Linked DNA regions of Homo sapiens: all the other regions are linked to region 2. Evidence: promoter capture Hi-C in 16 types of primary human blood cells and fetal thymus (Javierre and others, 2016). All regions are on one chromosome and are shown on one strand. The core of a region is centred on a gene start or on the middle of the fragment in contact, and the rest is flanking DNA. Distances in the headings are between cores, read along the strand shown.

Region 1 (2,700 bases), core at 147-2,646, 570 kb before region 2:
TCGCGCCATTGCACTCCAGCCTGGGCAACAACAGCGAAACTCCGTCTCAAAAAAAAAAAAAGTTTATTTTTTTCCCCATATTCAGACCACCACCTTATTTGCACAGTCCCTAACTTCCACAATATCCTGGGGGGAGGAAGGGATCTACCAACTAATTTTCTAGTCATTTTCCAACTTACACTGAGCTCCTACTGTACATTTTTAAAGGATTCCCCACTTTTCTGAAGATCTTTAAAAAATGTTGTCAGCCTTGACCCTCAAATAAATTCACGAACTACAAAACATGAACCTGGCCACATTCATCGCAAACTAGTATCTGTCAAGTCCATAATTGGGATAAGCTCTTCGTGACTACTCTATCCTCCATGCTACCACCCTTCGCCTAGAGAACCTGCCAATGTAAATGGCACTCAAGCCAATGAAAAAAGTGTTCTAACACATTAATAGGTTGCAAGACCTCCTCTCCCAGGAGGGACAACCTAGTTGTTTGGGTAAATAACAGCCAAAGATTACATAATGTACAGCAATAATGAGTGTTCAGAATCTGACCGCCAGTAAATATTTTTCTTCTCCGCTCCCCCTCACCACCCCCAGGAAATGGCCCTAAGAAGCAATCACTGGGATTTCTCTTAACTGTCTTCAATGCCGTGTCCTTTTCTCGCCTGGGGCTTTGTGCAAAGAATCCCTTCAGCCCTCACGACACCGCCTTGCTCCCGCCTCTCCTCCCTCTCTGCTGGCGCCACCGCAGCCCCCACGCCCTAGGTGGGCCCCCACGTCGCCCCACAAGGCTCGGCTTCCACCCGCCTCGGCTGCCGCCTTCTCCTCCTCACGACCCTCCCAAGATGCTACCTGGTTTACGAGAGGTTCCGGGACCACCAACACACCGGCTACCGCCTTTCCAGACCACCCTCGCCAGCTCCCGTCTGTAGTTTCCGCGGCCGAAGGAGAAGAAAACCCCTCTTCATCTAGCACTTTGCCTCCCCCAAAGACAGCACCGCCGCCTACCTGTCACCCTGCTGTCTCCGGCTTCCTACCGCCGCCGCCTCCCGCAGCAGCCTGCCAACTGCAGCGCAACAACCAACCCTCTCATTGGGTGAGAACACGCTCTCAACAACAGCCTCCCTTATTGGCTGCAGTATGCCGGCAGCCCCGCCCTGTGTGCGGTGTCTAAGGATTCCGTCCCCAAGCAAGGACAACATATTATCTTCCCCGCCCTTCTCTTTTCTACAGTATCTGTTACCTCAGTCAGATTGAGGATGCACATATACTGGGAAAATAATCGACTTCCAGCGTCCCTCATGTAGTCTCTACCTGATTCAGGAATCTCTAACCCAGTATCGGAACGTTAAGCGGCTTCTCCGCTTTCCTGCCGTGAGAAACTCGAGGTGACAACCTCCGTTTCCGGTTGGCTCCGGTTGCAGAGTTGAGTGTCCTGAGAGGTCAGATTGCTGTCAGGTAAATTAGGGAGTTGGTGGGAGGCCCGTTGATTAGGATTAAGAGCTAGACTCTATTCTGGGGAGTGCAGAAAAGGAGAGACTAAATGGAGAAGGATGGGAGGCTGGGAGGGAGATCAAAGAACTAGCAGGCGAGAACTAATGAAGTCCTAGTTTAGAGTTGGGGTAGGAAGAGGTGGTTGGAGGATTCAGTGATCATTACTGTAGTTGTTAAATCCAGGTGCTTGTTCCCGCTTCTGCCACACGCAAAATTGTCTTTGTTTGCCTTTGGATCGCAAAGGCAGAAGAACAGCATCACTAAAAGTAATAACAGTTCATTTGTTTTTTATGTTCTAATATTCATATAATCACAGTTTTTAATACGAGGAAGTTAAGATATATACTTGATAGTCTTCGGTAAACTAAAATTGCATGTAGTGGAAGTAGCATTATCTTCTTATTTCTTTCTTAGGGAAAGGATACCAGCACATTTTCTTAGAGCCAGCTTCCTTTAGTGGAGGTTGATCTTCATGAGACTTTTAGATTCACTTCAGACATAGATAGCTTTTAAAATTTTTGGTTGCATGTTTTTTCTTTATTTAACTAATTTCCTTACTGTTATTATTTGAGCTGCTCTGAAACGGAAATAACCACCATTTTTCAGTCCTCAGCACAATTTAAGTCAATTTTTCTATTTTTATTTTTTATTGTCAAGTATATATACAGAAGGGTGTATAAAACATACATTTTAAAAAATTATAACTAACAGAAGCAGACACTCCTGTATCCACCTCTTAGATTAGAAAATAAAGCATTGCCAATAACTTAGAACATGCAGTCTTAACAGGGGTGATTTTACATTTCAAGGGGTTGAAAATTGGTGGGGCCGGGGTCGGAATCTTAGTTACTACAATGATTTGTGTCCCTCCAAAGGGCCACAGTATATAAACAGTTATACAGTATATATGTAGTGTTAAATTTTCATGGCGGGGGGTGTGATTAGGAATAAAATGTCTAGAAAGGTTCCTTACAGGGACAATAGTTAAAAATTGGTTGAAAAACACTGCCTTAGAATCTCCCAGTATGTTTCTGTGATTCCATCTCCTCCACCAAGAGGTAACCATTATCCTGACTTGTGCTAAGCACTCACTTGTTTTACTTTAATTTTTCCGTCTATGATGAATTCCTAAAAAATGAATTGTTAGGCATTTCAATCTATATAAATGGGTTCAGAGTGCATGTGTATTTTTTTCTGACTCACCCCTTG
Region 2 (2,700 bases), core at 1-2,500:
CAAAAGGGTTAAATTTTAGACACTCTTGTAGTTTGTCCCATTTAGCAATCCATTCGTTCGAACAGTAGATTAATGCAAGTACTACAAGATTAGGACGAGGCAAGCTGCCGTAATACCATCCAGTAGTCAAAATTACAATTGGAGAAGAATGACAGTCACAGGAACGCGCTATTGTTCTAAAGATGCTACGAAGCGCGCGCGATCGATCCCAGGGCTCTGTTCACGTAACTGATTTCAAAAGTCCCGCAAAAATGACGTTCCACCCACCCAGAGACCCAACCTCTAATCCTCAAAAGTAGGACGGCTCAACTGAAGACAAAAATCCTAACAATTAAAAGTAGCTAAGGCTCGCTTACCACAGGATTCTTCCCCATTCTGCGTTTAGCCGGCCTCGGCGGCCGCCGGCCCCCAAGCACCTGGCGCCCCACCCCTCCCGGCTCGGTCGCGCGCGCAGGCGCAATGCGTCATCGGGCCGCGCCGCCTGGCTAGTACCCCGCGCGCAGCGCCCTGCGGGGATGTTGCGGTGAGAGGCGTGCAGGGACCTGGATTGGCCAGTCCAGACTAGCCCTGCCAAAAAGGGGGCCTCGGAGTTGGGGGTAATGTGCCCAGGAGCAGAAATCTGGCGACCGTGGCGCTGCAATCACAGCTTTCCCGTGGTTTCCTAAGTGGTGGCGGTGATTTGTTTGCGGGAAGCGGGGCGTGACGGAAGACCTTAATTAAAGGACTCCGCAGGCGAACAGATCTCTTCTGGGCAGCTACAGACCTCTCCTCGGAGGAGTCTAGGAGAGGCCTGGCTGGAAGCCCCGGCACCCGCCGGGCCCCGGGCCTCAGATGAGTGAGGCGTCGTCGTGGCAACGCGGGCTCAGGTCCCCGCAAACTTCATGCCAGGCCTCTCTCTCCCACTCCGGGAGTTCGGTCCCGGCCTCGCCTGCGTCTCCGTCCCATTCCTGTGAACACTGGAGGGGCGGATGCGCGCACCCCACGAGCAAGGCCCTCCCTTAGTGATTCCCAGCTCGTTGGCGCCCCCCCACACACACCCACCCCCACTGCCAAGTGTAGCTGTTTACCCGCCACCTCTCGAGGCCGACGCGCCCCTCGCCGCTCACCAGGTGGCCCTCCTCCAGCCGAGCCCCCGAGTCAGTCCTCATGGTGCTCTCCCCGCGGGGCTGCCCCGGCGCAACCGCCGGCGGCCCGAGCCCAGCTCCCCGCGACGCAGCGGCCTCCGGGACCTGTGGGACGCCGGGGCTTCGTGGCGCCTGGCGAGGCAGCCGCCCCCTGAGCCAGGTCCCCGCCCGCCTCTGTCCTGCCAGGCGCTGCTGGGTTTGGGAGGAATGCGTTTACTCTCCAGGACCAACGAGTCTGTGCAGGCCTGGGTGTGTGGATGTGTATTAATATAGGCAATTCTCACATTTTCTCCGATTGCTTACCCTTCATCCCACAACTGTGTAAATCAAATTTGGAAAAACTTTTTCTCAACCTTAAAATCAAATCCAACCTCACATAAATATCACTACAAACTACCTGATTTGCATCGTTTGGTTTGGTTGGGTTTGTTTTTTTTTAAAGATAACTTTCACTTTAAGTAACAGAGAACTACAAATATTTTGAATCATGCATTCTGTTTTACAGTTAAGAAAGAAATGGGAAAGATGGAAGAATGGTGTGGATATGGAGAAGAGAATGATGCAGAAGATGAACAGATACAGGGACAGGGAAAGCGCCTGGAAATCTCAAATCTGGGGAAAGAAAGAGAAACAGCACTTTGTAATGGCATCCTAATCTTGTTACCAAACAAACGGGGCTTGTTGCCCTATACGCACAGAAGCCAATATTATGGCGCTGATTTTTTGAGAAAAGTTTTCATTGTGAGTCAGCTAACAAGGAGACAGGAGTATAGCTCTAATCTGTCTCCCTGTGTTGGCTTTAAGACAGTATTTTTATTAGAAAACGTTTAGGGGGTGGATTCTGGGATTAGTAGGTGATTGGTGGAAGGAAAGAAGCCATCTGGAAAATCCTCTGGCGTTCGCAGTTACCTCTTCATGTCCCTTCATGGGTCGCATGTGCAAATTTTGGAGGGAGTCAGTGTGAAACATGGGGAAAGATTCAAGCTGTGACGCCAGCAAGCTCATTTTGTACAGACTCCAGGTAGCCATCCGTGTTAGTACTAACCACTTTCAGCCAGTTTGCTTTGTTTTGTTTTGTTTTGTTTTTTAATCTCACAATGGAAGAAGTTTAGGCGTTTTATTTAGCAAGTTGTTTTTTATCTGCCGTCCTGCATGCTCAAGAATTTCTGTTAGTCCCTGGTTTCTTTAACTCTGAGACACGGTTTCACTCTTGTGATTTTCTATATATAGGTCTCTGGGATTAATCCATTGCCTTTTTCTAATTTAGGCCTGCATGTAGATATTGGCTGTTAAGGAAAATTAGTGTTTGTCACACCTCTCATGAGAATAATTTTTTCCTTGTAGGCCGATTTGTAAATAGTGAAGGCAGTGCAGTTTCTTGTAGGTTTTGATTTTAGATGTGAAATGTGTACATTAAACCTTTCTTGCTGAGTTAGTCAAGTAAGCACTTTTTGTAAAAGATGTTTTCATAAAACACGTTTCATAGAGTACAGTTTCTAAAGTTAACTATTGCTTATTTTATTTAGGAAAGCTCTTTATTTAAATCTTAAAAAGATCATGTGAAATCTGCGAAAGG
Region 3 (2,700 bases), core at 159-2,658, 590 kb after region 2:
AGCCACCCTACTCAGCCATTAAGAAGTGTTTCACTCAAATTCCAAAAACAATCATTTTTTCATTAATCAATGGAGGACCCAGCAATTGAAGTCTTGTGTGTATTTAATGTCCACCGATTTTAACCTTGTTATTACTCAATTTCACTATTTTAACACCAGACAATAACCTTCTGAGAGCTGCCTCAGAAAACACATCACTCTAAAATAACTTGATTCAAATTAAGGTTGTCTTCTTAGGACAGTGGTTTAGTCTCATGCTGATATTAAACAGTACAGGATTTGGAGATTCTTGTTCTCACTTATAAACCTCTTAAGATTAAGGGTTCAGCTTTATAACTCTTTTAAGTCTTTAGCACTCAACACTGAACTTGTACTGGGTCTTCTTTGTTTTGAGTCAGGGTCTCTATCGCCCAGGCTGAAGTACAGTGGCATGATCTTGGCTTGCTGCAACCTCGACCTCGCAGGCTCAGGTGATCCTCCCATATCAACCTCCTGAGTAGCTGGGACTACAGGTACAGGCCATCATGCCTGGCTAATTTTATTTTTTGTAGAGACGACGTCTCTCTATATTGCCCAGGCTGGTCTCAAACTGGGCTCAAGCAATCCTCCCCCACTTAGGCCTCCCAAAGTGCCAGGATTACAGGTGTGAGGCGCTGCACCCGGCCAATGTACTGAGTCTTTTTTTTTTTTTTAAACGGAGTCTCACTCTGTCGCCCAGGCTGGAGTGCAGTGGAGTGATCTCCAGTTACTGCAACCTCCGCCTCCCGGGTTTAAGCAGTTCTCCTGCCTCAGCCTTCTGAGTAGCTGGGATTACAGGTGCGCACCACCACGCCTGGCTATTTTTTGTATTTTTAGTAGAGACGGGGTTTCACCATGTTAGTCAGGCTGGTCTAGAACTCCTGACCTCGTGATCCACCCAACTTGACCTCCCAAAGTGCTGGGATTACAGGCTTAAGCCACTGCACCCGGCGAGTCCTAATGATGTTGGTCAATCAGCCTACAGCAACAGTTCTCAAACTTTTTGTTCTCAGGAATCTTACACTTAAATTTATTTAGAATCCCATAAAGCTTTTGTTAGGTTGGTTACATCTATTGATGTTTACAGTATTAAACACTGAAAACTGAGAAATGTCTTAAATATTAATTCATTTTAAAATACCAACAAACCTGTTATATGTTAACAAATATATATTTTTATTAAAAATATTTTTCAAAACAAAATTAATGAAAGAGTGGGACTGTTACACATTTTTGCAAATCTCTTTAATGTCTGGCTTAATAAAAACAGCTAAACAGCTGGATTTTCACATCTGCTTCCACATTTAATTTGTTTTATCACAAGTCATGTTAGTTTCTAGAAACGTCCATTGAACACTCATGAAAGAATGACAGTGAAAAAGACAAATAATGTCCTAGTATGAACATGAAATAAAAGAATCTATTTGTATCCTAGGTCCTTCATTTCTTTATGTATCTCTTAAATAACCTGACTTCAAAATGGAGCAATAAATTCTACATTTTATAATTATTTCTTTATGTTGCTCTTCCATCAGTCTACAATAAATTTCAAAATGCTTCCTAGACGCTTCTGGGAAACAAAATAAAAGGCTGACGAAACTAAGCATTTACGCCTATACTTTTCTTCCTAGTAACCAAGTAAACAACTACCTAGGGAAACACAATGCCCACTTGGGAATTAATCTAGATTATTAGTAAGTAGATCCATCCAAAATTCATCTAGATTATGGTTAAGCTTTAAAATGTTAAGTGTACATTTTGTACAATAGTACCAATCTGCAAAAACCTCACTTGCTCTCACGAAATGGTACAAAACTGGGTTAAAAGCCAAGGGAATAGGTGTGTTAAATTTAAAAGTTCAAGTACATCGTGGAGTTGAATGAAAAATAGTTTTCTGAATAACTACCATTAAATGAGTAAAAGTCCAAAAATAATGTAAAAAGTCAAAGTCGGCTGGGCGCGGTGGCTCACGCCCGTAATCCCAGCACTTTGGGAGGCCGAGGTGGGCGGATCACGAGGTAAGGAGATCGAGACCAGCCTGGCCAATATGGTGAAACCCCGTCTCTACTAAAAATACAAAAATTAGCTAGGTGTGGTGGTGAGTGCCTGGTGGTGAGTGCCTGTAATCCCAGCTACTCGGGAGGCTGAGGCCCGAAAATTGCTTGAACCCAGGAGGCGGGAGGGTGCAGTGAGTGGAGATCGCACCACTGCACTCCAGCCTGGCGACACAGCGAGACTCCGTCTCAAAAAAAAAAAAAAGTCAAAGTCGTCTGAGCAAACAAAAGACCAGACAAAAACTTTATGAATTAAAAACTAGCCATAAAGTTGTTTAATTAGAACAGGATGAGGAAGAAAAGGGGAAATCGATCACTCCTGATTAAGTGCAAATCCCAAGTAAATTATTGATACTAACAGTGAGCTGGAGCACTTTGCCTTACCAGGCAACTTTCTGCAAATATTCTGCAACGACTCTACATACACAAAGTTTTCCTATGCTTTTCCTCAAAAATATGAGACTTCCTCAGGTTAATGCCCAGGTGAGATGCTTTTTGTTGCTCTAGCAGTTTAGTTCTATTTTCTTTCTTGGTTATTATGAATGCTCTCTTACAACTGGAGAGCTAGGATGAACCAATCCCGAGTAAGAAACGGGAAAGTACAGTAAAGAGGCGACAGCTCTGCACC

The links. The method cuts DNA at HindIII sites, captures the fragments that hold promoters and counts their contacts. A CHiCAGO score of 5 or more calls a contact.
Region 1: a contact is called between the fragment with the promoter of NDUFB3 here and the fragment with the promoter of TMEM237 in region 2, in 9 of 17 cell types (naive CD8 T cells, fetal thymus, monocytes and 6 more). The highest score is 15.3, in naive CD8 T cells.
Region 3: a fragment that was not itself captured here is called in contact with the fragment with the promoter of TMEM237 in region 2 in 1 of 17 cell types (fetal thymus); the score reaches 5.2 in fetal thymus.

What each region holds. Positions count from the first base shown.
Region 1 is chr2:201,070,605-201,073,304 of GRCh38, forward strand. NDUFB3 (NADH:ubiquinone oxidoreductase subunit B3) reads left to right here and starts at 1,397. Exons shown (of 3, transcript NM_002491.3): 1 at 1,397-1,455. It overlaps HYCC2 (hyccin PI4KA lipid kinase complex subunit 2), which reads right to left and starts at 1,067. Exons shown (of 13, transcript NM_001321623.1): 1 at 1,006-1,067. RefSeq lists enhancers at 540-679, 670-1,295, 780-1,049, 1,070-1,159, 1,296-1,919. The HindIII fragment of the contact is 13,158 bases long and covers 1-2,700 here.
Region 2 is chr2:201,642,253-201,644,952 of GRCh38, forward strand. It overlaps TMEM237 (transmembrane protein 237), which reads right to left and starts at 1,251. Exons shown (of 13, transcript NM_001044385.3): 1 at 1,107-1,251. The coding sequence starts at 1,148. It overlaps MPP4 (MAGUK p55 scaffold protein 4), which reads right to left. Exons shown (of 22, transcript NM_033066.3): 22 at 2,622-2,700. RefSeq lists silencers at 350-539, 1,110-1,369. The HindIII fragment of the contact is 8,699 bases long and covers 1-2,700 here.
Region 3 is chr2:202,235,137-202,237,836 of GRCh38, forward strand. The region is part of intron 1 of SUMO1 (small ubiquitin like modifier 1); the gene reads right to left. Among named protein-coding and RNA genes, the nearest start is that of SUMO1, 2.1 kb to the right of the region's middle. The HindIII fragment of the contact is 685 bases long and covers 1,067-1,751 here.